Linked DNA regions of Homo sapiens: all the other regions are linked to region 1. Evidence: promoter capture Hi-C in 16 types of primary human blood cells and fetal thymus (Javierre and others, 2016). All regions are on one chromosome and are shown on one strand. Each heading gives the region's core, a stretch centred on a gene start or on the middle of the fragment in contact. The rest is flanking DNA. Distances are from core to core; before and after follow the strand shown.

Evidence for each region. The method cuts DNA at HindIII sites, captures the fragments that hold promoters and counts their contacts. A CHiCAGO score of 5 or more calls a contact.
Region 2: a contact is called between the fragment with the promoter of BCDIN3D here and the fragment with the promoter of DDX23 in region 1, in 8 of 17 cell types (neutrophils, total B cells, fetal thymus and 5 more). The highest score is 13.5, in neutrophils.
Region 3: a contact is called between the fragment with the promoter of MCRS1 here and the fragment with the promoter of DDX23 in region 1, in 10 of 17 cell types (neutrophils, naive CD8 T cells, fetal thymus and 7 more). The highest score is 13.8, in neutrophils.
Region 4: a contact is called between the fragment with the promoter of TMEM106C here and the fragment with the promoter of DDX23 in region 1, in 4 of 17 cell types (fetal thymus, neutrophils, M1 macrophages and 1 more). The highest score is 9.4, in fetal thymus.
Region 5: a contact is called between the fragment with the promoter of FMNL3 here and the fragment with the promoter of DDX23 in region 1, in 9 of 17 cell types (neutrophils, naive CD8 T cells, naive B cells and 6 more). The highest score is 10.9, in neutrophils.
Region 6: a contact is called between the fragment with the promoter of CCDC184 here and the fragment with the promoter of DDX23 in region 1, in 5 of 17 cell types (neutrophils, fetal thymus, naive CD8 T cells and 2 more). The highest score is 11.6, in neutrophils.

What each region holds. Positions count from the first base shown.
Region 1 is chr12:48,850,331-48,854,848 of GRCh38, forward strand. DDX23 (DEAD-box helicase 23) reads right to left here and starts at 1,833. Exons shown (of 17, transcript NM_004818.3): 1 at 1,754-1,833. It overlaps LOC105369755 (a long non-coding RNA gene), which reads left to right and starts at 1,391. Exons shown (of 2, transcript XR_944925.3): 1 at 1,391-1,484; 2 at 1,720-2,219. RefSeq lists enhancers at 1,689-1,878, 2,758-2,967. The HindIII fragment of the contact is 5,632 bases long and covers 1-3,646 here.
Region 2 is chr12:49,840,265-49,845,271 of GRCh38, forward strand. BCDIN3D (BCDIN3 domain containing RNA methyltransferase) reads right to left here and starts at 2,842. Exons shown (of 2, transcript NM_181708.3): 1 at 2,590-2,842. The coding sequence starts at 2,823. BCDIN3D-AS1 (BCDIN3D antisense RNA 1) reads left to right here. Exons shown (of 3, transcript NR_027501.1): 3 at 1-890. RefSeq lists enhancers at 2,185-2,554, 3,125-3,184. The HindIII fragment of the contact is 7,812 bases long and covers 1-5,007 here.
Region 3 is chr12:49,566,395-49,570,896 of GRCh38, forward strand. MCRS1 (microspherule protein 1) reads right to left here and starts at 1,748. Exons shown (of 15, transcript NM_006337.5): 1 at 1,654-1,748; 2 at 328-447. The coding sequence starts at 337. RefSeq lists enhancers at 1,044-1,847, 2,198-2,247. The HindIII fragment of the contact is 9,561 bases long and covers 1-4,502 here.
Region 4 is chr12:47,961,823-47,966,483 of GRCh38, forward strand. TMEM106C (transmembrane protein 106C) reads left to right here and starts at 1,774. Exons shown (of 8, transcript NM_001143842.2): 1 at 1,774-1,882; 2 at 2,387-2,601; 3 at 3,460-3,523; 4 at 4,016-4,175; 5 at 4,267-4,407. The coding sequence starts at 2,415. The HindIII fragment of the contact is 3,638 bases long and covers 1-3,145 here.
Region 5 is chr12:49,704,391-49,709,524 of GRCh38, forward strand. FMNL3 (formin like 3) reads right to left here and starts at 3,015. Exons shown (of 26, transcript NM_175736.5): 1 at 2,665-3,015. The coding sequence starts at 2,790. It overlaps LOC124902929 (a long non-coding RNA gene), which reads left to right and starts at 3,336. Exons shown (of 3, transcript XR_007063299.1): 1 at 3,336-3,449. It also overlaps the pseudogene COX5BP5. RefSeq lists a silencer at 2,659-3,428 and an enhancer at 3,449-3,598. The HindIII fragment of the contact is 3,771 bases long and covers 1-3,647 here.
Region 6 is chr12:48,181,761-48,186,320 of GRCh38, forward strand. CCDC184 (coiled-coil domain containing 184) reads left to right here and starts at 1,884. Exons shown (of 1, transcript NM_001013635.4): 1 at 1,884-4,166. The coding sequence starts at 2,363. The coding sequence ends at 2,947. The HindIII fragment of the contact is 3,853 bases long and covers 1-3,479 here.

The DNA of each region.
Region 1 (4,518 bases), core at 583-3,082:
TGTGGTGCCATAGCAAACAAACTGGAGAAGACTAGGGAACGAACAGATTTAAGAGGAAATCAAACGTTTCATTTTGGCCAGGTTGAGTGTGAGAATATCTGTGGAGATTCCCAGAAGGCAAAGAGAAATGCAAATCTGAACTTAGGGGAGAGGGTCTGTAGACAAAAACTTGAGTCACCAATACACAGATAGCTTTTAAAGCCATGGGACACTAAATGATATTACCTAAGTAGGCAGCATAGTGAAAGAAAAAAAATAGAGAAGAAGCTCCAGAATTGAGCTCTGGAACACTTTAACAGGAGTTAGCCACGGGATGAACCAGAGAAAAAGACTGAAAAGAACTAGCAGCCAGTGAGAAAAGACAAAGAAAAGCATGGCAACGAAGAAGCCAAAAACATGTTTCAAGGAGGGAGGGGTCAACTGTGTCAAGTACCACCGAAGTGGAGAGGGAATAAGGGACAGGGAAGTAACCACTGAATTTGGAAAAATGGAGATTATTGGTGACCTTGACAAGAGCTGTTTCAGTTGCATTGCGGGAATGGAAGCCTGAGTGGAATGAGTTTGGAAGAGAATGAAAAATGAGAAGAAGACAGTAAATACAGGCAACTTTTATTACAGGTTCTATTATCACAAGGGCCAAATAACCAGGCTGACTCTGGCCATGCTTCCCAGCAGCCTTCCTCTCAAACCTCCAGATCTTCAGGTCCTCAGTTCTTGCAGGGCAGGGGCACATTCTTTTTTTTCACTCAATGACGTATTTAACAAGCATCTACTGTACGCAAGGCACAGTGCTAGGTGCTATGTGAGTTACAAAAATAAATTCTGTTCACAGGAAGTGTTTAGAACAACAGGGTTATGAGGTCGGACGCGGTGGCTCACGCATGTAATCCTAACACTTTAAGAGGCCGAGACAGGTGGATTGCCTGAGCTCAGGAGTTCGAGACCAGCCTGGGGAACACGGTGAAACCCCGTCTCTACTAAAAATACAAAAAATTAGCCGGGCGTGGCGGCGTGCGCCTGTAATCACAGCTACTCGGGAGGCTGAGACAGGAGAATCGCTTGAACCCGGGAGGCGGAGGTTGCAGAGAACCAAGATCGTGCCATTGCACTCCAGCCTAGGCGACAGAGCGAGACTCCGTCTCAAAAAAAAAAAGAAAAGAAAAGAAAAAAAAGAACAATAGGGGGTATGAGACACATACCAAGAAGAGTATCAAGGCTCAGATGTAGTAATACAGGTGTTCAAAGGCGTTTCCTTTCACTTGTAAAAGGTGATGTGGAAGGCTTGGAAGAGGAAGTGACGCTTGAGCTTTTAAGTATAAGTAGAATTTTAAGATATGTAATTAAGGACGCGGAAAAGAAGTCATTCCCGGCAAAAGAAATAATACGGCCGGCGCAGAGGCGGGAAAACATGGACTGACTGCGAGAGAAAAGCCAGAGTTCCAGTTTGGCTGCACCAAAGGCTACTTTAAGCATGAAAGAATAAGGTCAGACTGGGGGTATCAGAGGCGCTGTGCCCATAGGCAGAGTCCTGGGAGGAAAATATCGTGCAGGGACGTGGCCTGTGCCCGGAGGAGCCAACACTACCCCTGGGGCCCGCGCCCCTTCACTCCAGCCCGCCCGAGCTTCCCGGGTTCATGCCCCTTCTCTGAGGCGTTCTTTCCCGCCTCATCCAGGAGGCAGGGGCCACCGCCGTGCCCTGACTCTAGCCCTTTCTGTAAGCTCGTGGGAACCGCCTCCACCGCCCGGGACTCACCACCCTGAGTCTGAACCGCCCAACGCGGCCTCAACGTCGCGGAGCCGTCGCCATCTTTCCCGTTTCCTGGTCGCGGAGATGAACACCCCCCACCCCCCCGGCCGCGAGGCAAGCTGGGAAGGCGAGTTCCTGGAGCTGGGCGGCACAGGCCGACACTGAGGCCTGGAAACTACCAATCCCAGAATGCATGACTTGAGCGCCGGCCCCAGGCTGCGGGGTCTGCCGGGCAATGTGGTTTGCCAGACGTTAGCGTCCGGGAAGGAAGAGTTTTTCGCCAATAGGCTTTCGGCATTAGGTTCTCCCGCCGAGCACCCTTCTTGGAATCGGCTGGTCTTCCTAGAAACTACGGTCTATGACTGTCCTTGCCCGTGGCTTACAGTGGAGGAATTTAAGGGCTTCCTGAGATATCTGTAGTACGTAATTATAGCTAACAACCGCAGTAACAATAAATACCATTCGTGGAAAAGCGGTTTTTATAATAATTCTGTGAGAATGGGGCTAGCCCCATTTTACAGTTGGACAAACTAAAGATCAGGTTACCGGAGTAGGTTCACAAGGAGGGTGATGCAGTTCTCCATTGTGTGTGGAACTATCCCAGGCTTAGGAGGACGTTTTAGCAACCTTGGCCCCTGCAGCCGGGTGAATGCCATAACAACCCCCAGTTATTGTTACAGCTCCAAATGAGCCCACACAATGGGCTCTAAAGTCCTCCCGGAAGGATGGTATCTCCTGGGCTCTAGCACCTGTTTTCTCAACATTCCAGATGGAACCCTGGTTTCCTCAATTTCTTGCCCTTTGGAATGTGACCAATTGTTGAGCTATCTTGGTATTTTTGCTTCTTTCTTCCCCCAGATTCCCCTACTTCAGTCTTCCACTGAGTTTTGTTGTTGCTGTTGTTGTTGTTGTTGATGTTGTTGTTGTTGTTTTAACCTCAAATCGTAAGTTCACTTTGTGTTTCTCTTTGGTCTTATGGGTTCATAACTCTTTCCCTCAAAACAAAACAAAACATTGCAGTTGCGGAAACGGTTTAGATAACCAGAAGTATCTCGGACCTCCCTTCCCATTTTGCCAGCAGCAGGTTTGTTGCTTCAATTCCACATGGCTGTAGGTCTGCCTTTTCTCTCTGAATATGCCCAAGCTCTCAAGCAGAGCCTCAGGATAGACCCAAGTAATCCTAAAGCCCTGAGCATCACGTACAATGGCCCAAAGTAACCCTCGGAGACACACACTTCTCTTAGAACCTGCAGCCTTTCACCTCCCAGCTTCTACTCCAGAGAGAACGCAAGGGAAAGAAGAGAGCTCTGAGATCTGTTAGGTGTAATTCACCACAAAAGCACGAGAGGGCGCTCGACTCACAGATTCACAGATTAAACTAAGAATCAGACCAACCATGGTAGGCCAGAATCTTCAAAAACTGCAGCCACTTTTTATTGAGAATCTTCTAAGTGCTCAGCTCTGGGCTGGACACTTAACCTACCTTATTTGTTTTACTTAGTTCTCATAGCAGTATGAGATGAGTGCTATCTCCATTTTACTGGTAAGGAGATTGTGGCCCAGAAAGAGTAATTATGCCTTCAAAGGCCACATAGTTAAAAGAATGGGCCAGGTGAGGTGGCTCATGCTTGTATCTCAGCACTTTGGGAGGCCAAGACAGGAGGACTGCTTGAGCCCAGGAGGTCGAGGTCGCAGTGAGCCATGCTCGTGCCACTGCACTACAGCCTGGGTGACAGAGCAAAACCCTGACTGGAAAAAAAAAAAAAAGAAAGAAAGAAAAAAGAAAAGAAAAGAATGGAGCCAAAATTCAGGTTCATTTAACTTCAGAGTCCATTACCTTTCCCCATTTTCAGGCTGCCATCTCAACTCTCTTTAAATTGAGCTCCTGGAGGGTGATAAAGCTTGTCCCAGTTCATAGTGGCAGAGTTCCTCTAGTACTTGTGCGCACATCTCATGACACATGTAAGACATTGGGCTTCAAGGATACTTGTTATTTGTCTTGCCCCACTAGTTCTCTCACAAACATGAATCTTTGTTTTCTTATTTGTTTGTATTTTTATTTTATTTTATTTATTTATTTATTTTTGAGATGGAGTCTCGCTCTGTCGCCAAGCTGGAGTGCAGTGGTGCAATCTCGGCTCACTGCAATCTCCACCTCCCTGGTTCAAGCGATTCTCCTGCTTCAACCTCCCAAGTAGCTGGGATTACAGGCACATGCCACCACACCCAGCTAATTTTTGTATTTTCAGTAGGAACGGGGTTTCATCATGTTGGCCAGGATGGTCTCGATCTCCTGACCTCGTGATCCACCTGCCTCGGCCTCCCAAAGTGCTGGGATTACAGGCGTGAGACTCCACACCTGGCTTATTTACTTATTTATTTTTGAGACCGGGTTTCACTTTGTTGCCCAGGTTGAAGTGGAGTGGCACAAACAGCTCACTGCAGCCCTGACCTGGGCTCAAGTGATCCTCCTGCCTCAGCCTCCCAAGTAGCTGGGACCACAGGTGCACCCCATCATGCCTGGCTAATCGTTTTACTTTCTGTAGAGACAGGGTCTTGCAATGTTGTCCAGTTTGGTCTCAAACTCCTGGCCTCAAGCAATCCGCCCGGCTCGTCCTCCCAAAGTGCTAGAACTACAGGCACCAGTCACCACACCTAAACCATCATCTTTGGAGACAGAGACAGAGGGATGGTGTTCTAGTAAGAACCATAACTGGAGATACCTATTTAGGTACAACATGCCTACCAGTAAGGGGTCCATGGGATTTTGG
Region 2 (5,007 bases), core at 1,592-4,091, 990 kb after region 1:
TGATTCTCACAAATACATAATGTTGAGAAAAAAAGCAAGCCATAACAGAAAATATATGAAAAGCATCCATTTACATGAAGCTCAAAAATGGGTGAAATTAAAGTACATCATTCAGGGAAGAAAAACAGTACACTATAAAGAAAAGCAAGGAAACAACAGAAGGCTAGTTGTTACCTCTGGGTAGAGATAGAGGTTTATGAACAGGAAAAGGCATATAGGGGAAGTTGTGGGGTGCTGAAAATGTTTATTATTTATTTATTTATTTATTTTTGAGACAGGATCTTACTCTGTTTCCCAGGCTGGAGTACAGTGGTGTGATCACTGCAACCTTGACTTCCCAGGCTCCAGAGATCCTCCTACTTCAGCCTTATGAGTAGCTGGAACCACAGGTGCACACCACCATGCCCAGCTAATTTTTGTATTTTTGGTAGGGATGAGATTTTGCCATGTTGCCCAGGCTGATCTCAAACTCCCGAGCTCAAGCAATCCACCAGCGTCAGTCTCTGAAAATGCTGGGATTACAGCGTCAGCCACTGCACCCAGCAGTTTTTTGGGTTTTTTGTTGTTGTTTTATTTGAGACAGGGTCTCACTTCGTCACCCAGGCTGGGGTATGTGGCACAATCAAGGCTCACTGCAGCCTCGACCTCCTGGGTTCAAGCGATCCTCCTCCCTCAGCTCTCTAAGTAGCTGGGACTACAGATGCCCACCACCACACCTGGCTAATTTTTTTTAGAGATGGGGTTTTGCCATGTTGCCCAGGCTGGGAAAGGAGTTTTTAAAATTGAAAAAAAAAAGCACCCATAAATTATGGTACATCTATCCAATGAAACATTAGGAAGCTGCTAAAAAAAGAATGTGGTGATATAAATAATCTCAGAATTAAAAGCTACTAATAGTGTGTTACCATTTGTAAAACTAAAAGGGGGGTACTTATATGTACGTAAATGCTGGTATACACACAAGACTGATACCTAAGAAATTATAAACAGTAGTGCCACTGTGTGGGGGAAAAGGAGGATTTAGGGTTGGGAGTAGAGACTTACTTTTTAGTATATACCCCTTTGTAGTTTGAATTTTTTTGTTTTATCAAGCGCAAGCATTTTTTTTCCCTTTCCTGACTACAAAGATCCACAAGAAAAAGCATTTTTTAAAAACTGCAAAACAGAAAGCTCCATAAACGTACAGCCAGGTTTGGGAACCACTACCCTAGTTAGCTGCCAACTATGTCTTTACCTCTCATGTGTATACTACTCTCAACTTTAAAATCTCTGGTGGTTTCCTAATGCCTTTCGTGAAATCCCAAGCCTTAACCTCAGTCTCTCTTTTCCATTGTTTTTACCCTCTGACTTCCCGTATCATCACAGCGGAGAAATTTTGCAGGGGACACAGGACATCAACCCATCTCCTCATTCCAGTCTTTGAGACTGTATCCAAATGTCCCCTTCCTACTATCATCTGAGTCCCACAAGGTCTGAAGTCGTCCCCCAAAGTCTCTTCTGTAAAAGGACAGCAACGTAACAGAATTGTCCCCCGCCCTCCAGATGCTGGACTGGAGTGATGGAGGGAGCGCAGAGAGGGTACTAACTTTTGAAGCATTTGCCGTGGTAAGTTCAGACTGCCTGCTAGTGTAGAATATCCCAGTGGCTACAAATAGGTGTGGGAGAGACATTTCCTTATTTTGCATGTGGTTTGATTATAATCATATGCCTAAGAATAGTTTGCAGCAAGAAGAGTGGCAGTGCCGCCCTTCTCCATTCCCTTGGGCAAAATGCTTTATTTGCTTCTCGATCCTCTCCACTGTACTCTGTCAACTCACTGTTTTGTTTTGTTTTTGAGACGGAGTCTCGCTCTGTCGCCCAGGCTGGAGTGCAGTGGCACTAGCTCGGCTCACTGCAAGCTCCGCCTCCCGGGTTCACGCCATTCTCCTGCCTCAGCCTCCGGAGTAGCTGGACTACAGGCGCCCGCCACCACGACCGGCTAATTTTTTGTATTTTTAGTAGAGACGGGGTTTCACCGTGTTAGCCAGGATGGTCTCGATCTCGTGACCTTGTGATCCACCCGCCTCGGCCTCCGAAAGTGCTGGGATTACAGGCGTGAGCCAGCGCGCCCGGCCTACTCACTTTTTTTGAAATAAACATGCAGGTCCCAGGGTCTGTCCTGCACTGTATAGCACACATGAGTCTCAATATCAGGCATGATTCTGTCACCCTTGGCTCTTCTCTCCCAGTAAACCAAACCTAACCCCATGTTCCCAAACGTGTGTCTCTGGAAGCCCCCTCTCCCCAGCCAAAGCGCCAGGCACGCTGGACAGAGGCCACCCTAGATACAAGGACCGTTCCCACCTGGGGTCTGGCCCTGAAAGAAAAGTGGGAACGTAGTCGACAAGGACTCCTCTCCAAGAGAGATTCCTAAGACAGATGGTGGAACCCTGGCGGGCAGGCAGCAGCGGCACTGGCTCAGTCAAAGCCACGCTTTATACTCGTTTTGGGAAAGTTTCGATGGGTGTTAGCCCAGGCCAGAACCACAGTGGATGTGTAGGCAGCCAACCACTTGGCTCCGGATGCTCCAATCCCTCCCCTGTCACTCACCCCGGAGTTACACCCCACGTCGAGCCCCAGAATCGGCCCGTTCTCGGGACTCTCAGGAAAGAGCTGTCGAAGCAGCTCCGGGGGCAGGAGGCGGAGCCGTTGCTCCGGAGGGTGGAAGCGAGAATAATGAGGAAAATTTCCGAACGGGGCGGCGCCAGGTGCCAGAACTCGCGATTCCTCTTCCGCTGCGGTCTCCTTAACACTCCCTCCATCCAGTTCCGTGGGCACCGCCATTAGCCTCAACACAGCCTCTGGGCCGTGGCGGAACCGGAAGCCGGGAACCTGCTGTCGGCGTGGGCGGTGGCGGTGCCAGCGCGCGTGCGTCGAACGGCTAGGGCGGGTGGCTAGAATTCTGCGGTGAATCAGAAAAGCTGTCCTGATTTCCTCTCGCTGTATACCTGGAGCCGGCGAGCGCCTGGGGCTTGCCTTGTATTATTGAACCCTCATCACAACACTGGGAGGGGATTAGCAATATCATCCACGTTTTACAGGGATGAAACAAACTCTGAGGGCTAAGTGTCTTGGCCAAGCTGACATAGTTTGAAACTTGGGCTACTTGACCCAGAACAAGTATACTAGTTTGTTGGGATCTTGGAAATCAATTTTAGTCCAATTTCCTTTCTTTATAAATGCAAAAAGTGAGACCGAGAGAACTTACTTGTCTGGGGTCATACATTGAATCTGTGACTCAAAAACTTCCACCCGGTTCAGGAAAGGGTAGCCAGGAGGTGCAGGTCACTTGCGAAGCCAGCCGACTCAGCCCTGTCCCCCAGGGGCAACTGTAGACCATGAGCTCCTTGAGAGGCAAGGACCGTGCCTTAAGAGCCAGCACTTAAAGAGTGCTTACCAGGCACCAGACACCCTTGTAAGCTCCTTAGTCAATCCTCTCACCCCGTGAGAAAATGACCGTATTATTATTCTTTTTATATAGATGAGGACACTGGAGTAAAACAAAGTAACTTGTCCAAGATCCCACAGTTAGAAATGATGGTACTAGGATTCGAACCCAGGGAGTTTGGATCCAGAGGATGTGCTTGCAACGGTGTGTTATTCTCAGCCTTGAGTCTCCTATACTTAACATGGGCCTGGCACAAAGATGCTCAACAAATGTTGTTGAATGAAAACTCAATAGAGAATACAATAAGGCCAGATCTGTTTGGGGAAACTTTAAATGGAAGGGAGAAAGGATGCCAACTGAAGCAGACATAGTGGAATGGAGTTGGGCAAGATGTGACTCAGAGATTGGAAATAACAGAGCTGATAAGGAGAGGAACTGAAGGGTCAACCTAGGTAGCAGGTTCCAGTCAAAAGCCAGGATGGCCCAGAATATCCGTCAGGGTCAACCAAGCATCAGCAGAGTTGTGCAGGACCCCCAACCCCACCCCTGCACCTGGCCCACCCATCTTAAAGGGGTATCCTGCTCCATGAGGCTGGCAGTTCGGTAAACTTCTTATAAGGCACTGGAGCATGACTCCTGCAAACAGTACCATCAGGAGTTAAAATAAGCGCTGTTTTCCTCTCAGTTTTTACTTTATATTTTCTTTTTCTTTTCTCCTTTTTTTGAGATAGAGTCTCACACTATTGCCTGGGCTGGAGTGCAATGACATGATCTCGGCTCACTGCAACCTTTGCCTCCCAGGTTCAAGTGATTCTCCTGCCTCAGCCTCCCAAGTAGCTGGAATTACAGGCACCCGCCACCATTCCTGGCTAAGTTTTTGTATTTTTTAGTAGAGACGGGGTTTCACTATGTTGGCCAGGCTGGTCTCGAACTCCTGACCTCGTGATCTGCCCACCTCGGCCTCCCAAAGTGTTGGGATTACAGGCGAGAGCCACCACGCCCAGCCTTTATATTTTCATCTCTATCTGGCCTGCTGTTTCTCTAGTTTCACTTATTTGAGGACACAAGTTAATAAAAGTCACTCTGGAATTTAGTAAACCACAGTATTCTGCACAATTACAGAAAAGGAGAAAAAGCTGCACCGTTTTGACAAATTTTGGTGAGCTGAGCTGAACTTACCTCTTTTTGTCACTAGATGAAGCTAGCACAAATAATTAACAATTTTCAAGGAGCTGGAATCACCTTGCTTCCAGGACAGTGAATGGCAAGAACTCCTGACCCTGGGGTTCCTCCAGAAGCAAAGATAGGCCCTCGTAACATTACTGGTAATCTAAAATGCCTGACAGGTGACCTCATAAAGAGGTGTTTTAATTTGATCCACTCTGGTAACTTTTCTAACCTATGACCACTTTTCAGAGCCTGAACAGCACAGGTGTCTTGACAATACTTGACAATACCAGCCCCAGCACCTTAAATAGCTGTAGCAGCACCTAAGAGCTCGCTCTGCACTTTGGTCAGCCAGGTTTTATGGAGTGAGATGCATATATAATTTCAAGGGAAAGGGGAAGAAGGGGCGCCCT
Region 3 (4,502 bases), core at 498-2,997, 720 kb after region 1:
CCCAGACCTTCCACGCTGGGCAGTTCCCCCGGTGCCACGTGTCATGTCGTGCAGCACATGGTGCTCAGGTCAGACTGGTGATGCCGACACGCTGGGCTCTGGGCATAACTGCTCCCTCTGCCATCAAAATGCAGCCGTGCTAAAGAGCAGCAGCTCAACAGCAAGTCAGTCAACTGTGGCTCTGCCGACAGGTACATGGGTGGTGCTGGCCCAGGGGGAGGTGGCAAGGCCTAGCCAGGACCGAAAGACACACGTGCCAGGCACAGAGTGGAATCAGCAGATGCTTGGCGCCCGAGCATTTGGGGAGCTGTCCCGGCCTCATACTACCTTTGTCCATCCTCTTACAGTCCCAAAGCCACTGGTTCCAAACCACCGGGCTAGGAGGAACGGTCCCACAGGCTCATCCAAGGATTCTGACCAGGTGAGCTTAAAGGCTGAGAGGAGATTCTGCAAAGGAGAAATGAGGCTCCCTGAGGCTCAGATTTCCAACTGGCCAGCCTCACTTCCTTATACTGGCTCAGGTCCCCCAGGGTCCCATAAGCTAGGGAAGACATAAGGACAGGAAAGAGGCATAAGGCCCCACTCTGCCAATAATAGCCTTAGACATCAGTCTTGTGAAGGTCACTGGCACCTTTCAGAGTATGATAACAGCTATGGACTGCAGAAAAGGGTGCAAACACATACTATTTTAGAGGGTTCATAGACCCTTTAATTCTACTGGTATCTCCTAGGTTAAGCGCCTTGACTATAAACTAGCAAGAGACAAGGGATTCTTTGGCCCACATTTTTCTTTACTTCAGCTGTCCACTCAGCTCAGCAGCACCAGCCTTCCCCTCCCAGGCCAAAGCAGGAAAAAAGAAAGGGAGACAAAACTCCAACCAGTCCATCTCGTTTTTTTTTTGTTTTTCTTTTCCATTTGGGGTTTTTACTGAAGATTTAGTAAGTGGTATTTCCATGAGATACCATCTCGTGGAAACCAAAAACCACTGTTTGGGAACTGCGTGATTATCAACCACGCTGTGCCCCAACAACCCCTAGAGAACCCAGGTACTGGACTTTCTCGGGGCGCTCCTCTCGTGAGTCCCCACTTCTAACCAGGGTGGCTCTTAGCTCAGTGTTCTAGCCCTGTCCCCAGGTGAGCCTGTCGCTCTCCGCTCCATAGGCTACGACTAAGAATCTTGACATCTGAGGAGAGGGCGAAGGGGCCCGAGCTTGCCGGCAAACTGAGGTAGGGTCTGTGCCCCTTCCTTACCGGACCCTCCGCCCCTCGTTCTCCCAAGAGTGCACACCCAAGGTAGGGGATCGGTCCAGGTCTGTCTCAAGAACTCGGGGTAGGAGCATTGATGAAGTCACCTCTGCAACTCAAAGCAGAGCACCAAGTAGCCTTGGTTTGAGACCCACAGGCTGGTGGCTGGGGAGGTGGGGGTAAACTCGCAAGCCCATTCTCACCCCACGGTCTCCATGCCTTTGCGCATGCGTAACACTTCGAGCCAGATTCTAACCCGGTCCGGCCCACGCATGCGCAGCTTTTCGGGGCGCCACTGGGGCGGGGCCCCAAACTTGGGGGGTGGTCGTCCCCGGCGGCACTCTGCAAAACTCCATTTCATCCCCAACTCCTCTGAGAACCCTCAGAGGCGAACCGCGAGGTCTCACCATTCCTAGACTGCCAGATCCAACAATTTCTCCGCGGCGACGGTAGCAGCCGCAGGGCCAAAGCCGGCTTCCGTGAGGTACGTCTACTTCCGGTTAACGAACCAGGGGGCTGGCAATCTCTTCCGGTTCGTCTTGGCAACGTGTGTGAAGGGGGCGTGGCCATGGTACGGAAAGTGTAAATATTTTACCAATAGCGGAAAGTAAAGGCTTTCCTAGTTGGGACAGCATATAGGGAAACGTTAAGGATTATAGGCACCGGAGAGGTAACCCGGCTTGAGGGGTTGGTTAAAGGGAAAGGCGAGACTTAGGGCGAGACCGAGCGGGGCTAATTGAGGCGACCCGGGGAGGGGCGGGACCGCGGACTGGATTTCGACTTCCAAATTCCCACGAGGTATAGGAGTCTGAGGGTTGCACAGGACCTTATGCATTGTTTGACTCCTCCAGAGCCTTTAGAGAAACTTCTATCAGGCCCGCCTGCTAGGCACTAGTCGGGGAGATAATGTAGCCAGGGAGATGTGGCGGACAGAAAGGGCAGAGAGGCTCTCTGAGGAGCGGATGGAGGATCGTGGGCCGCTTTACTGAGAAGGAAGAGACCCTGCGAGAAGGAGTAGTGTCGACTTGGTCCCGTCAGCCGGACCCCACCTGGACGGCTGGGGCCACTTGTGGTCGCCGGGAGGTAAGAGAGAAAACCAATGGAAGCACCTTCAGAGGAGAGTGCCTTGGAAGGAATCTTGGGGTGGGAGAACGAACCTGTCGGAAAAATTGGGAATTTGGGGCTGTGAGAGATGTTCCGGAAAACTAGAAAGACTGTTGTCTAAAAGAGGAATTCTGTTTTATGCTTCCTTTGCGAGGTACTAAAGTCTAGCAGCTATAGAGAGACATACTTCAGCTCAGAATAAGAAAGATTCAGTTCCAAAGCTGTCCATCAGAGGTGTCAAGAACACATAACATGGACATTGCTAGGGAATTCAAGTGTCAAATGAGAGACTGGCCCTTTTGGCCCTGACGGTATACTATGGCCCTCTGCTTCGAGAGTACCAACCTCATTTACTGTTCTGTGGACTTGTTTAATGAGTATGTACTTATTTTAACTCCCATGAAAGAGTGTGTGTTTTATTTTTTAACAGGCACTTGATTAAATATATTATGTAAACTTGTGAAAATATCAGAAAACCAATGAAATTTTTTTTTTTTGAGACAGAGTCCCGCTCCATAGCCCAGGCTGGAGTGCAGTGGCACAATCTCGGCTCACTGCAACCTCCGGCCCCCGGGTCTCGGTTCAGGCAATTCTCCTGCCTCAGCCTCCCGAGTAGCTAGGATTACAGGCACGTGCCACCATGCCCAGCTAAGTTTTTTTTTTTTTTTTTTTGTAGAGACAGGTTTTCACCATGTTGGCCAGGCTGGTCTTGAACTCCTGATCTCATGATCAGGCTGCCTCGGCCTCCCAAAGTGCTGGGATTACAGGCATGAGCCACAGCACCCGGCCTGAAATAATTTTTATAAAAAGTGATTACACAGAACATTAATAATATTAATGTTATTAAATATATATGAATTCATGATAACTATTAAAAACATACAAAGGAAAAGACAGTTGAAGGAAATGCACCAGAATGTTAACACATGTCCAAGTGGTAGTAGTAGTAATTCTTCTCTCTAATTATTTTCCAGTTTTTTAATACATGGTTTTTAAATTTTGTTTTATTTTTTTTGAGACAGAGCCTTCCTCTGTCACCCAGGCTGGAGTGCAGTGGAGCGATCTCGGCTCCTGCAACCTACACCTCCCGGGTTCAAGCGATTCTCATGCCTCAGCCTCCTGAGTAGCTGGGATTGCAGGTGTGCGCCACCATGCCTGGATAATTTTTGTGTTTTTAGTAGAGATGGGGTTTCACTATGTTGACCAGGATGGTCTCAAACTCCTGACCTCAAATGATTCACGCACCTCAGCCTCCCAAAGTGCTGGGATTACAGGTGTGAGCCACTGCGCCCGGCCATATTTTACAATGAAAAAAAAAATAGGTTCTACACAACTTCTTTTTATTGATTGATTGATTTTGAGGCAGAGTCTCGCTCTGTCACCCAGGCTGGAGTACAGTGGCACAATCTCGGCTCACTGCAACCTCCACCTCCTGGGTTCAAGTGATTGTCCTGCCTCAGCCTCACAAGTAGCTGAAATTACAGGTGCCTGCCACCTGCCTGGCTTATTTTTGTATTTTTAGTAGAGACGGGGTTTCGCCATGTTGGCCAGGCTCGTCTCGAACTCCTGGCCTCAAATAATCCACCCGCCTCAGCCTCCCAAAGTGCTGGATTACAGGCGTAAGCCACTGCACTGAGCCACAACTTCCTGAGTGAAAGAGGAGAAAGGAAAACTCTTGGCTTCCAGCTGCCTGAGGTAATTCCTTCCCCCAAGGTGTCACGAGGGAAAGGTGGTGGTCACCATCATCTCCTGTTTGGTACCTGGAAACTCAAACTTCCCCTCTGGTCCTCAATCCTCCCTACTATTGGATAAAAAGAAACCTAGGCACCCTTGTGGTATGGATGCAGGGATTTCTAAAGGGCAGCTTCCTGCTCAAGATTGTGTTTTCTGTTTACACAGCGTGGTGGACTATACTAGCTATAGTTAGTATATATAGTATAGTATCTATACTAGATGAAAGTTCTCAGGATGGTCTTCTATGAAGAGGTGATGACTGAGCTGAGATTTGATGTCGATAGGCAACCAGTCATACAATAAGGTGGGGTACACCGACCCCATCAGAGGGGATAGCTCTGGCTCCAAAGCAGGAAGGAGTTTGGTGAGTTTGAGGAACAGGAAGGACCCCGGTGTGGCTGGAGCAGGGCGATCAATA
Region 4 (4,661 bases), core at 524-3,023, 890 kb before region 1:
TGTCTGTACTCAACTCCTGCTGCTGCAGGCTAAGCTCAACCTGGCAGTATGAACAAAGAAACCCACCCATTAAAAAGTACCCTCTAGGCCGGGCACAGTGGCTCACGCCTGTAATCCCAGCACTTTGAGAGGCCAAGGTGGGCAGATCACCTGAGGTCAGGGGTTTGAGGCCAGCCTGGTCAACATGGTGAGACCCGGTCTCCACTAAAAATACAAAAATTAGCCAGGTGTGGAGGTGTGCGCCTGTAATCCCAGCTACTTGTGAGGCTGAGGCAGGAGAATCGCTTGAACCCGGGAGGCGGAGGTTGCAGTGAGCTGAGACTGTGCCACTGTACTCCAGCCTGGTCGACAGAGCAAGACTCCATCTCAAAACAAACGAACAAACAAACAAACGAACGAAAAGTGCTTTCTAACCTCTTACGTACGTGCCTTTTTTGTGGAGGTCTGGGGAAGGGGGGGCCCTACTACCGAATGAATCTACTCCTTGGTGCCTCTTGGCACCTAATTGGCTTGCAAAGCTCAGCTGTGGGGTCCGTTCCTGCGAGAAGCCAGCAGGACTCCCCATGGAAGGTTTCCCCCAGGCTGGGCCCCTCTGACTTGTGAGACTTCCAGCAGCACTTTTATCTACAGTATTGGAGGGGTCTGATGAAGCCTCTGGGTTCCCCTCCTGGACTGAAGACAGGTTCTGATATAATTGCCGGACGGGTTCTCCTTGCCCGTTGCCCAGAGCTGATTCATCAAGACAGGGGAATTGCAATGGAGATTTTAATTCATGCAGAGCCGGCTGAATGAGATACCAGAGTTTTATCACTCAAATAAGTCTCCCCGATAATTCAGAGACTGGGGTTTTTTAAGGATAATTCGGCTGGTAGGTATCAGGCAGTGGGGAGTGCTGATTGGTCAGGTTGGAGATGAAATCATAGGGGGGTCTAAGTGGGTTCTTCTTGCTGTTTTCTGTTCCTGGGTGGGATTGCAGAACTGGCTGAGCCAGATAACTGGTCTAGGTACTGCCAGCTGGTGCCTCAGAATGCAGGGTCTGAAAAATATCCCCAGCACCGATCTTAGATTTTACAATAGTGATGTTATCCCTTGGAGCAATAGGGAAGGTTTGGAATCTTGTGACCTCTGTCTGGATGACTCCTAAACCATAATTTCTAATCTTGTGGCTAATTTGTTAGTCTTACAAAGGCAGTCTGGTCCCCAGGCAAGAAGGGGGTTTGTTTTGGGGAAGGGCTGTTATCTTTGCTTCGAAGTTCAACTATAAACTAAATTCCTCCCAAAGTTAGTTTGGCCTATACCCAGGAATGAACAAGGGCAGTTCGGAGGTTAGAAGCAAGACGGAACTGGGTAAGTCAGATCTCTTTCACTGTCATAATTTTCTCACTTACAATTTTTGCAAAGGCAGTTTATCCGAATGCTCCGCATGTGTGTACCCTCAGCGACTACACAGCTCCTGTACTATAAAGAATATTTCAGAATGGCTTCGGTAGCCGGCAGCACCTTCCTCCTCTCGCAGCAGAGAAGTGTTTTGCTCTGGAAACTTGACTGGAGCCTTTCCCAGCCTATCTAGCGAACAGCAGAGCATCATCCCGACTCCGCGGACTACCGCGGCCCAACAGCAAGGGTCGCGGCTCCCCGGCGCTCTCTGCCGCCCTCTACCGGAACCGAGGGAGCCAGACAGCTGCGATATTGGGAAGGCCTCCGGAGCCGCGAAGAGCGCACGCGCGAGCGCGCGCCCGCGTTCTCCTGGCGGGCTTGGTATTTGGCGCCTGCGCGCTGAGTGCGTGCCGCTCCGCCGACCGAAGAGGCTGGTAAGTCCTCAAGCTGGCAGGTGGTCGGGGGAGCGGCCGGAGAGGAGCTGCCGGGAGTTCGTGCCCTGCAGGTCTGCGACGCTGGCGTTCGCTCCTGCCTGGGCCACTTTGGTGGGCTCAGAGCATCGCTTTTTGCCAAGGGGCGTGACCTGAGCCCGCCTCCTGGGGCTGGGGGGTGGAGAGGAATGGGAATCGTTAAGGCCGGTTATCAATTTGGTGCCTGTTTGTTGCTCGAGGAGGGGCATAGAGCTTACAAATAGTGAAGAGGAAGGGGCGAGGCTGGACCAGGTGGGAGCGGGGGTGCCCCAAGTCCCAGGGCGGTGAGGATCGAGGCAGGTGCGTGAAAGGCAGGCCCCGTTCCCCCTCCCCACCCCCGCCGGCTGTGTGTGGCGGGTAAGAGGAGAGTGGGTAGCACTACTACAAAATGAGGGTCCCGATAGAAATCGTACAGGTGTTGGGACCACACTCAGGGCGGCAACTTGTCATTTTTGCGTTTTTAATTTTCTTATAGAAACAAGCGATTTCTGTCGTGATTCACTGGGGCCGCTAACGTGCACTCCCTCTTTTCATCTTAGGACATGACACCAGTGGCATATCACGGCCATGGGGTCTCAGCATTCCGCTGCTGCTCGCCCCTCCTCCTGCAGGCGAAAGCAAGAAGATGACAGGGACGGTTTGCTGGCTGAACGAGAGCAGGAAGAAGCCATTGCTCAGTTCCCATATGTGGAATTCACCGGGAGAGATAGCATCACCTGTCTCACGTGCCAGGGGACAGGCTACATTCCAACAGGTGATCATGGAGGGATGATTCCCTGATGAGAATCCCAAGGTACCCTCGGAGTTCTCCTGTCTGCCCAGACAACTTTTCTTCTAGGCAGTAATACCATAATAGAGACAGTGCCCTGGACAGGAGCCAGCTCAACTGACTTAATACACTTGGGCAGTTCTGCAACTTCTCTTCCTCTCCTTATTTTTCCAACCCTTTCTTTTCTTTACCGCCACTCTTGTTCTTTTCCTGAGGTTTGGAACATTCAGTTCGCTCTGTGTTGTGGGATTTGTTGACAGGCACATTTCTTTATCGCTGTCACAAGGATTGGGACAGCTTTGCGGGGGAACCATCTTGGAAGCTGCTTTTCAAGGAAATGGGTAGCTAATCCTTAACAGCCTAAGGTCAGAAAAATATATCAGGTCAAGAGAGAGAGACAAATACTTAGCCTTGGTACAGGATCATCTATTACTATTAACAAATTGGCCCTCAGAAAGTCTTTAACAGTTTAGCTGGAGAGTCACAGAAATTTAGAGCTGGTTAGGACCTTCAAAATCATTTACTCCAAAGCTTCCATATGAAAGGCAAGGAAACCATGGCCTTGAGAGATTCGACGACTCTGCCAAGCCCATGCAGTAAAGCCAGAACAGGATCCCAGGTTTTTCAACTTCCACATCACTACCCTGGCAGCACTGATAGATGTTTTATAATTTGTGGCACTCTCTTGTTTCTTGTTCATTAGACCCAACATGTGAATTTCACTAGTATTTTTTAAAATGTCTCATTCCAGAAGAATATTTGTTGTGGCAGGCTCAAGTGAGACGTGAAGGAAGTACTGCCAACACATGGGATTTACAAAATAATTGTTTGGCTCTTTTCTAGAGCAAGTAAATGAGTTGGTGGCTTTGATCCCACACAGTGATCAGAGATTGCGCCCTCAGCGAACGTGAGTTACCTGCTTCTCACCTGTTAATACCTACTTCTGTCCCTAATCTCTTTCTGTATGTATGAATGCCAGTTAATTCTTTGAAAACTACACATGTTCTTATAAGTTCCCCATTTTCCTTATAACTGTTTGCCCAAGCAAGATATCTCTGCCCCCATCACAATCTGGGGAAAGAAACTTGAAGCTGGAAATGCTTTGAAGGTCAAGGAATGGAATCAGAAGAAACTGGGAAAGTGGAGTGTTCTGGGAGGTGTGGGACTGTCTCTGTCCACATAGCTCCTTTCTTCAGCTTTTCTTCCCAGAGTGCAAACAGTGTTTAAAGGAGTTTTAAAAGGTTTCTCCTGCTTCACTGCTTCTTAACTGGTTTATGGTTCCTGGCTCTTGGAACTTCCCTTTCAGCTCCCTTCTCTTTCCTGGTTTTGTGTTTAATCTTGACACATTGAACCTTGATATCTGACTGCCTGGGTCGGTCATGTGCTGTGTCATTTGCAGTAAGCAATATGTCCTCCTGTCCATCCTGCTTTGTCTCCTGGCATCTGGTTTGGTGGTTTTCTTCCTGTTTCCGCATTCAGTCCTTGTGGATGATGACGGCATCAAAGTGGTGAAAGTCACATTTAATAAGCAAGACTCCCTTGTAATTCTCACCATCATGGTAAGCCTTAGGGTTTCATTCCCTGGGTTGTGCACCTGCCAGGCTGGGACCCAGGACACTTACACTTGTTTCCTGACTTGCCCTGATGTAGGCCACCCTGAAAATCAGGAACTCCAACTTCTACACGGTGGCAGTGACCAGCCTGTCCAGCCAGATTCAGTACATGAACACAGTGGTCAGTACATATGTGACTACTAACGTCTCCCTTATTCCACCTCGGAGTGAGCAACTGGTATGCTGTTCTTTTAGGAATCTTGCCCCACAGGCCTAAGAGAAGAGTAGGGGGCTGTAGGAATGCCATAGCTGTGTCACTTTCCTTTTTGTCTCCTCATTTCTACTTGTAGGAACTGGTGATGAGGAAGACCTGTTGGGCCCTGTAATTATAAATAATTGTGAGAAAAAACAGCTATCATTTAAGCATTTGGGGAGCAGAATAATTTGTAAGAGACAAAGATTTGCTACAAAATAAGAAGCAGCAGTGTTACA
Region 5 (5,134 bases), core at 1,765-4,264, 860 kb after region 1:
CTGACTGTTTCACACCATCAACAAAAATAAGCTAATCTGGCCAGGCACAGTGGCTCATGCCTGTAATCCCAGCACTTTGGGAGGCCAAGGCGGGTGGATCACCTGAGGTCAGGAGTTCGAGACCAGCCTGGCCAACATGGCGAAACCCCATCTCTACTAAAAACACAAAAATTAGCCAGGCTTAGTGGCACGCGCCTGTAATCCCAGCTACTGGGGAGGCTGAAGCAGGAGAACTGCTTGAACCCGGGAGGCTGAGTTTGCAGTGAGCTGAGATCGTGCTGCCGCACTCCAGCCTGGATGACAGAGCCAAACTCCATCTCAAAAAAAAAAAAAAAAAAAAAAAAAAGAAGCTAATCTATAATCTATATTGAGTACTTACTGGGTGCCAAGCACCTTATATACAGGGGCTCACCTAATTCTCACAATCTCACCAGAACAGGATTACCTCCATTTTACAGATGAGGAAGAAGTCTAGGCTCAGAGAAGTTAAGATACTTGCTAAGCCAGAGTCCTTGATTTTTCTACTACACTATGCTTCTCCTGACTGTTCAGGAAATACCCCTAAGCCTGTACCTGGGTCAAACACCTGACTCAGTCAGTACTGTTCCCAAAGCATGGTAGAAAGGGTACCTTTCAGAACAGTGGACACAGGGACACTTAAGAGCCCCCAGAGAAGAACTCAAATCCCCAAGAAGGGATGATTTCCCTGTATTGGAAAACTGAGGTGAAATCCCGTCTCCTGAGACAACTAACTAGCTCTGGCCTGCCCTGTTCCAACCCTTCATCAGCAGCAGCTCAGGCACACAGAAACAAGACCAAAACAAAAGGCATGAGGAAACAAATCAAAATTTTATACAGAAAGGAAGGCATGCAAGTGGGTGGTCCAGTCCCCCATTTGACCTGGGTTCTCCTGGTGCTCTGGTGTCCTGGTTAACTAGGACATCACGTGCATTTTGTGAATATTAAGCCATTAGTTTGCTAACTAAACGAAATGGTCAACCAAGGGCCAATGAGAACATGATGGATTCTGGTTCTGAGCTCTCACAAAAAATGGCCTGGCAGCTCCCACCTAAGGCAGCCTCCCACCCAATCCACCTCACCCCATCCCTTTCTCCCCAGTTTCTATAGCTAACTTGTGTCAGCTTGCTGGGGATTTTCACACCCCCACCAGAGTGCAGATCCCCTCCCACTCTTTTCCCCAACAGTTGGGCTCTTGTTCTCAAGGCCACTAAGTCCCAGTCTCTCCTCCTCAGCCTGTGAGATGGTCACAGCACATTGGTAATCACTGACTCACCCGATCCCCCGAGGAGGCTGGGGGAAATGCAGAGGGCCACAGGATGTATGGCCCACATCCCTTTGGCCCTTCGCAGAGCTGGCGGGCAGAGAGGTGCCAGCGACACCACTTCCCCTTGGAACACTGTGGACCCTCTTTGAGCCAGCTCTGGTGCCAGTGGGCTGATGTCAGATTCTCTACCATCGGAGAGGCCAAGATCTCTAGACAGCTCCACTGTTGCCAACAGATCTAATCTCCTTATTCCAAGGCAGATGAAATCCAATAAGGCTGCTAAGTCCACAACTTATCCCTCCTGATGGGCAGAGGCAAAGGCAGAGTCGGCCATACCAACAATAACGCCAGAATTATTACTGCTTCTTAGAAAACTCTTTGGGGAAGTGAGAACTATTTCCCCAAATTTCTCAAAGATTAACCCCGGTTTACCAATGTTTTCGCTCTGCAAAACTTCATTTTCAGCGCAAACATATTTTCTGGCTCCTTCCCGGTGATACCAGCTCAGAACCTCTCGCTTCATAGAGCCACTGACATCAATGTCCAATTCCCACACCAAAGAAGAATCCCAAAGTCAGCTCTAAAAACCCATTTATACAGACCGTTTGAAACCCACAGAAAGACTAAAAAGCACAGGCTAAACAACACAAACCAGTCACTATGGCTTAACGTGAAAAGGGGGGGAGGAGGCGGGATGGTTTGTGTATTGTTTCACTTGGAGAAATACCCCAGTGAAATGGTTTATCCACATGTTCAGCCTTTCAGGCAAATCCACTCTAACTTAGCAGGATGCCTGCAGGCCGTTCTGAAAATAAGCAGAATGGCATACTCTTTATTCCACCCCCTTCAGGAGCTGCCAGCCGCCTCCCCATCCCCCTCTCCCCCCAAACATCTGGTCTGGGCTGGGAGTGGGACCCACTCCCTGGGAAGCCTCCATGTTCGCAGGAGAGGCGGTGTCCCCACTCAGGGAAGCCTGCTGAGGAGCGAGCCGGCCGCGCTTCTGAATTCCCCCCACCCGCGAGAGGCTCCGGGCTGAGAATGCTAGGGACGGGGAGCCTGGCGAAGAAGCGGGGAAACGGGAAAAGGGCAGCAGAAGGGGGAGGAAGAAGGAGGGAGAAGCCTGGTTCCTAGGACGGTCCCGAACTGGGGACTTCTCCTAAGGGTCCAGCGGTGGAGGCGTCGGTCCCGAGATCCCCGACGGGGCTGTCCGGGCCGGCCAGCGGCTGCTCAGAGGTTCCTGGGAAGACACTGGAGGCCGGGATCCGTTCGGGACCCCGACTGAAAGGGTGGGCGGGACGGGGGCCCAGCACAAAGTCCCAGCCCGGGCGTCGGGACCTGAGGGGCGGTACGCGGGGGAAGGGGCTGGGCTCAGCTCTCACCAGCACCAGGGCGAACCTTTCCTCCAGCTCACAGGGCTCAGGCATCGGCATCTTGCCGGGCGGCAGCAACAACGGGACAGAGGGGGGCTCTCCCGGGACCCCCTCGGCGCTCTCCAGGTTGCCCATCGCGGCGGGGCCCCCTCAGGGGCCTCGGCCCCCCACCTCCACGCTCCGGAGCTTTCGGCTCCGCGGCTCCGACCAGGCTCCTCCCTCAGCGCCGGCTCCCCGAGTCCCGACTCCTCGGCCCCGTCGAGGGCGCCGGGGGTTCCCTGGAGTCCCGCTGGCGGGGGCGCGCGGCGAGGGCGGAGGCAGCGTAGCGGACAGCCGCACCGAAGCAAGGCGGACGGAGGCGGCCGGCTCTTGCTCACACCCGCCGCCTCGCCGCGCTCGGCGCGCCGCCCGGGCGCTGCCCCTCCCCGCCCCCCGCGCTCTTTCCCTTCCCCCGCCAACCTCGCTTCCTCCCACCCACACCCGGCCGAGACTCGGGCTTCCCCCGCGAGCGCCGACTGCAGCCCGCGCGACGCGCGCCCCATTCATGCAGGCCCCGCCTCCCGCCCAGAGGCCTCACAGGCGGCCCGGCCCGCCCCACCTGCGCCCGATTGACGGCCGCGTCTGCCAATCACAGCGCCTCCCGCCCTTGACGGCCTCGTGCCGGGCGCCGAGCGCTCCCTGGCGGCCTCAGCCGGCATCGAATCACCGCGGTTCCCAGAGGGCGTGAGGGGCTGGCGTGGACACACCGGGAATGGACCGTACCCTTTTTCAAAAGGAACTCATGATGTATACAAGTAAGTAAAATATTATACAAGGCATGGCGTACAAAACTAACTACAAGAGAAGTAGAAACAAGCAGGATACTCAGAAGAGGGAGAGAGATAGTACCTGTTAAGAGTCGGGGTGAGGGAGATCATAGTTGGACCAGGCATTGAGGGATGAGGAAGCCCTTACCCGACAGAGGCAGGGGAAAAAACGTTTGGGAGGAGAGAAGCTTAACCATCTGGCTGCGTGTGAAAATGGAGAGGCGGGAGAAGAACGCTGTTCTGGGCTCAGTCGGCGGCTGGGTCGTTGACATTTGCGGTGGAAATTTGTTGTCTAGCCGCCATCTTCTTCCAGTGAGAGCACCCCCTTTTCTTTTAGGAAACCACCTCTCCCCTCTTCTCAGTCTAAATGGAGCTGAATTTTATCCCCAGTTCCAAAGGACCGCATGACCCAGGCCCAGTCAGTCACAACATTTTCCTCCTCTACCCATGGACACTGTTTTAGGGATTGTCACTTGACCCAAGCCCAGACAATATGATATATCCAAGGCTTTCTCTGAAACAATCAGGAAAGAGGCACTCACTCTCTCTCCATTTAGGCTGCAAAATTATTAGAATGTAAACCTGCAGCCGCTGGTGGCCGTCTTATCATCACCTGTAACACATCAAGCCTGCTTGAGAATGAAGCCAGCGCAGAGGAGAGAAAAGCTATGAGACAGGACAAAATTCTAATGACATGCCAAGAACCTGGATCTAACCATGCCTGAAGTTATCACCTAGATTTTTAATTCATTTATTCAACAAATATTTATTTTAGAAAGTTTATTCTATGCCAGATACTATTCTGGGCATTGAAGGTACATCTGCGAACAAACAGGATATACATTGTGTCCTCTTGGAATTCACAATCTGTGTAGAAGGAAAGGTAGACAATAAACTAGACGAGTAAAATGTATAGATGTTAGTGATCAGTGTTAATAAAAATAAAACTGAAAGGTGATAGAGATGGAAGAGGCATTAAGATTTTAAATAGAGTTGCTTACTTGGGAGGCTGAGGCAGGAGGATCAATTGAAACTAGGAGGTTGAGGCTGTAGTGAGCCATGTTCATGGCACTCCACTCTAGCCTGGGTGACAGGGTGAGGCTCTGTCTCAATAAATAAATAAACACAGCTGTTGCTTGTCACAGGCATGATGGCTTCAAGGTTAATTTTCAGAGCTGGAGCGCTAGCCGCATAGGCCTGAGGGCTTACAGTCCCAATGGGGTGGTTGCAGTGTGCTTCATGGCATCTGGAGGTGGCGTTCCTACTGATGACAAGCAGATGACTGGGCTGGAGAGGGAGTTCATGACAGCCATGTATGAGATTGGACCCATACAATATATTACCCCCAAAGGCAGCTTCAGGCACCAGGGAAGACCCTAACAGCTCCCTCCATCACCAAGATAATAGTGAGCTGCATCGGTGAAGAGGACAACAGTGCTGTCAACTGGTTCTGGCTGCACAAAGGCGAGACCCAGTGATGCTCTAACTATGAACCCATTACAAGCTGATGTCCCACAAGTTGGCCCAGTGAGCCCTGGCACTAATTGCTCAAAATGTGCTGTAAAGTATCTTCTCTCCAATAAAGACTAGTCATTGCATTGGCTCCTTCTTCCCCTCCCTCATAATAAATATTTTAAATAGGATGATCAAGGAAGGACTCACTAATAAGATAG
Region 6 (4,560 bases), core at 634-3,133, 670 kb before region 1:
GTGCTTATGGAAACCAAGGAAAAGCATTTCTGTCCTCTCTTGAGCCAGAGTTTCAGGAGTAATCTAAGGTGTTATTACCACGTGTGGGGTACAGAGCAGAGGTAGGAGTCCTAAGCAAGGTGAGAGTGCTGGAAATCTGTAGAATGAAGGAAGAAATGAGCAAGCAAATAGAATTGAATCATTAGTTTCAGAAAATACAATACTGTGTTTTTAAAATTTGTTCATATATTTGTTTTGGGAAATCAAATTTTTAATGGCTGCATAATACTTTATGTATCAGCAATTTTGCCTTAGTTTATTTAAACATTCTGCTGCTGGTCATTTAGGATAGTCCCCACTTGTTTCTATTTTAAAAGCAGTAAGATTGGTATAGGTCAAGCAGTCCTCTAGTGTCACAAAACTTTCCCTGGGCCAGCCTCACTCTTCATCACCAAGCACATAACCAGGGAAACCCAAAGGTAACACATTTGCTGTCACTGAACCGCCAGTCTACAAAACACTCACCTTTACGTAGTTCTTCTCTATCTTGAAGTGATATAGTTTGTTTCTCTTTCCCAGATTTATTCTTATGAACTTCATTTTTGGCTTCCGATCACTTGGCTTCCCTAATTTCCTAGGGTCATTATTAATTATTGTGCTCTGCCCAGGTGCTGATTCCTTCTCAATCTGCAATCATCTACGTATATTAAAGACAATTTTTCTTCTTCCTCCACCCTTCCTGCTCCACCCCTTAAATAGGGAAAGGGCTTGTCACAAAGGTTGGGGATACTCAGTGTATGTCTGAACTTGGGCACTGAAAGAGAGAGCGGGAATTACTCTAACACACAGTCCCCCCATCCATACCCTCCACACAACGGTCAACAGTTTACCTTTTCACCTGTGAGATGATGCAGACTGTTATTCAGAATTAGAAATAGTATTATAGATTATCCAGTCCAATTCCCTAACAGATGAGGAAAATGATGTGGCCAAGGTCGCTGAATGAATAAGTGGCAGAAACGAAACTGAATTCAGGTCTCCTAAAACCCACTACGTTTGGCTTGGGGAGTTCTGGATGAGAGCGTGGGACTTGGTGGTTTTTGTTATTCATTCAATAACTATATTAAGCATCTACATACTAGGTGCCAGGCACTATTTTAGGAGCTGGGGATTCCGTGATGGAGGGTGCAGGGGAGACAAAAATCTCTCCCCTTATGGAGCTTTCATTCTCAAAACTTAAGCACTTGGCCTCCCCATCTGGGACAAACTCCCAGAGACCTGCGTAGGAGCGGTAGGGTCTCATAAAGGAGGGAGTCCCATCCTTCCCCCGCTCCGGTGATTTCTATAGCTAGAGGGCTGATTTACTGCAGAAACCTCCGTAGCGCCCTCCTCCTGCCTCTGCACCGTCAGGCCCGGTGGGTCCGGCTCCAGAGCGCCACCGTGCCCCAGCTCAACTCTGGGATCATTAGCAACAGCCTCTCTACCCTCTCCGCTTTCCTGCGCATCGCTGGAGGACAGGGAGGCAGGACTCGACTTTAGCGCCATCCTCTGAGAAAGGAATGCGGGCTGGAAAAATCTTTCCAGGGCAGTCTCGCTGGGTCTCATACCCCGGCTAGGGGAGGGACGATCTCTCCCGGACTTGGAGGTTTCTGCAGCAGACGGCTCTCTCATACTTCCCTATTAAACATTGCGACCACACGCTCTTTCCAGCCTTGGCCGAAGCCACTGTAGCGTCCCCTCTCCTCCCCCCACCCCGCTAGTCCAGACTCCAGAGCCCCACTGCAGCTTCCAGCCATCCTCCCTTTTTCTTCGCCACTTCCTGGTTACCATGGAGACACACGTCATTTACGTGCCGTGCGTCGCCTTGGAAACAGAGGAGCATCCGCGACACCCCCGGGAGACCCACCCCAGCTGCTGCTGCCACACTCGCGGGCGCTGCCCGGTAATGGCCTGGGGGAGTCCCGAGTCCGACGCGCCGCTGGCCTCAGCCTGGACGCGGACCCCTCCGCGAGCGCGTCTGTGACCCACGGAACCGGCAGGCGCTCTCTGCTTGTGGCGCCCAGAGGGCGGCGCTGACACGGGCGCGATCCGGGAGGCGAGGCAGGGCAGGGCACTTTCGTCCCGGGGCGATCCCAAGAGACGCCGGCTCTGGGACCCTCGCCGGGTCCTCGTCCCGCAGCCTCTTCTCGGCCTCCCGCGATCCTGCCTGCGCCCTCTGCCCAGGACTCGTCTCTCACGTCGGCTCCCCGCCAGTCTCGGGAGCCTCCGCTTCCCTCGGCTCCCGCTAGCCCCTCCCGGGACCTCTCCCCCTCCACCCCCTCCCCCACCCCGGAGGCCGGGCTGGACGCGACCCAGAGCCTCCGCCACCCGCTTCTGCCACTCAATGGAGGACGGTCTGCTGGAGATCATGACCAAGGACGGCGGCGACATGCCGGCGCCCCTGGAGGTGTCCACCGTGCCGGCAGTGGGGGACGTGATCTCCGGGGAGTACAACGGCGGCATGAAGGAACTGATGGAGCACCTGAAAGCCCAGCTGCAAGCCCTGTTTGAGGACGTGAGGGCCATGAGGGGGGCCCTGGACGAGCAGGCCTCGCACATCCAGGTGCTCTCGGACGACGTGTGCGCCAACCAGCGAGCCATCGTCTCCATGTGCCAGATTATGACCACTGCGCCCCGCCAGGGCGGCTTGGGCGTGGTCGGCGGCAAGGGGAGCTTCCAGAGCGACCCCCAAGAGCCGGAGACTCCTTCGCCTGGGATCGGGGACAGCGGCTTGCTGGGTCGCGATCCCGAGGACGAGGAGGAAGAGGAAGAAGAGAAGGAGATGCCCAGCCCCGCCACACCCTCCAGTCACTGTGAGCGCCCCGAAAGCCCCTGTGCTGGTCTCCTTGGGGGGGACGGGCCACTTGTGGAGCCCCTCGACATGCCCGACATTACCCTGCTGCAACTGGAGGGCGAGGCCTCCCTGTGAGGGGACTCCGTGGGGCACTACCTTCCCGGGCTGTCTTTGGGTTTCCGAGTGCATGACGCGAGGGGGACTGAACGGCGCGGTGCGGCATGCTTCACTTGGACAGCTGCTCTTGTGGGTCAGGCAGAGAGAGACTCCCTCGAGGAAGGATTTGTAGGGTGAAGGACTTTGGGAGCATCGAGAATTCTTTCTGCCCAACTAAGCGAATTATAGCGAACTGCGGAAAGGTGAGGCTCCGGGAGAGGAAGCGCCCATCTCTGGACTCCCATCCATCCCTATCCTGTCCTTTCCCCCTTCCCAGACAACAGGAGAACCCGTGAATTGTGTAAATAAAATTCTGCTTTTTCTATTCTGAAAAAGGACTTACCTAGGACCATGGCAAATAATCTCTAACAATTTACCTGGAAATTAAGGAATTGGGGGTATTTTGTTCTGGCAACAGGAAATTTACCCTTCTGCTGAAATCCAAGATATTCAGTGCTCTGCAGAAGCCTCTCCCCCTCACAGATCTCTGCGGCTGCTGATTGGTAAAGGAAGCTTGAGGAGGGAACTGCAGCCCTAGGAATCTGGGTGAATGGGGTTCCAAGGGCCCCTGGGCTGGGAGGAGCTGGCTATGAATGTGCATGAAGACATAATAGCTCAACCTCTAGGATTTTGCATGCAGAGCGGATCCTGCCTTGTCACTGACTTCATCTGGGATTGCTTTTCCACTCCCTGGGGCTTAGAGAACAAAGAGCCCGGTTCACAGGCAGAGACTCGGGGGTGCTCAGCAGCAGCCCAGATTTAGGGGACATTTGAGGGACTCTTGGGGCCGCAGCCAAAAACTGTCTCTCCTGGCTACACCTGCTTAACTTCAGTTCCTTTTTCTGTCAATATGTCCTTGCCCACTGCCTCTCGGTGTTGCCTTCATAATGTCTTGTGTGTGTTATGTGTGTCTACTTGTGTAGTAGTGTGTGAGCCCTCAGGGGCAGGGCTTGTGGCTCTGGTGTTAGGTTCAGGGGCTTCAGACCCTTCTACGAGCTCCAAGCTATCAATGGCGCTTTTCTCTCCCTCTTCCCCCAACCAGGGCATGGAGCATGTGGCTGTCCTGAGGTTCTTTTACTGATGTGCCGCCCTTCCACCTCCTCAAGTGGTGACTTTGTGTGCCCTCCCCCTCCTTTGTGTATTCCTTCTCAATGCTTTCCTTGGTGTTAACCTTAATAAAAAGGCGTCATCTCCCCTCCTTGCTGACTGGTACTAAGGGGATATCAGGGTGGGTCTTAGTGGGAACTGCAGGGGCCATGCCTTCCCTCCTCTCTCCTTGCCTCCAGTTCAAGGAGTTGACTGTCCCTGCCCTGGTTGGGACAGGCATTGCCAACTCTCCCTGCTTTCCCTTCTGTCCTGGACCTTGACCTCAAGCTGCCCTGGGGAAGGAGGTGGTAAGTGTTGAGACTCCCATGCTAACATGAGTTTTTAGTAGCCAGAACTCCAAATGTGCAGGAGACTTCTTTTTCAGTGAAGCATCCCAGTGAAGCCCTGGGAAATGATTTCCAAATCTGGGTCCTGGAATGGCAGATACTGCACCTGTTCCATGGAGGGAGTGGGGTGGGGGTATTGTTCTGGAGGGATTGCCTGGG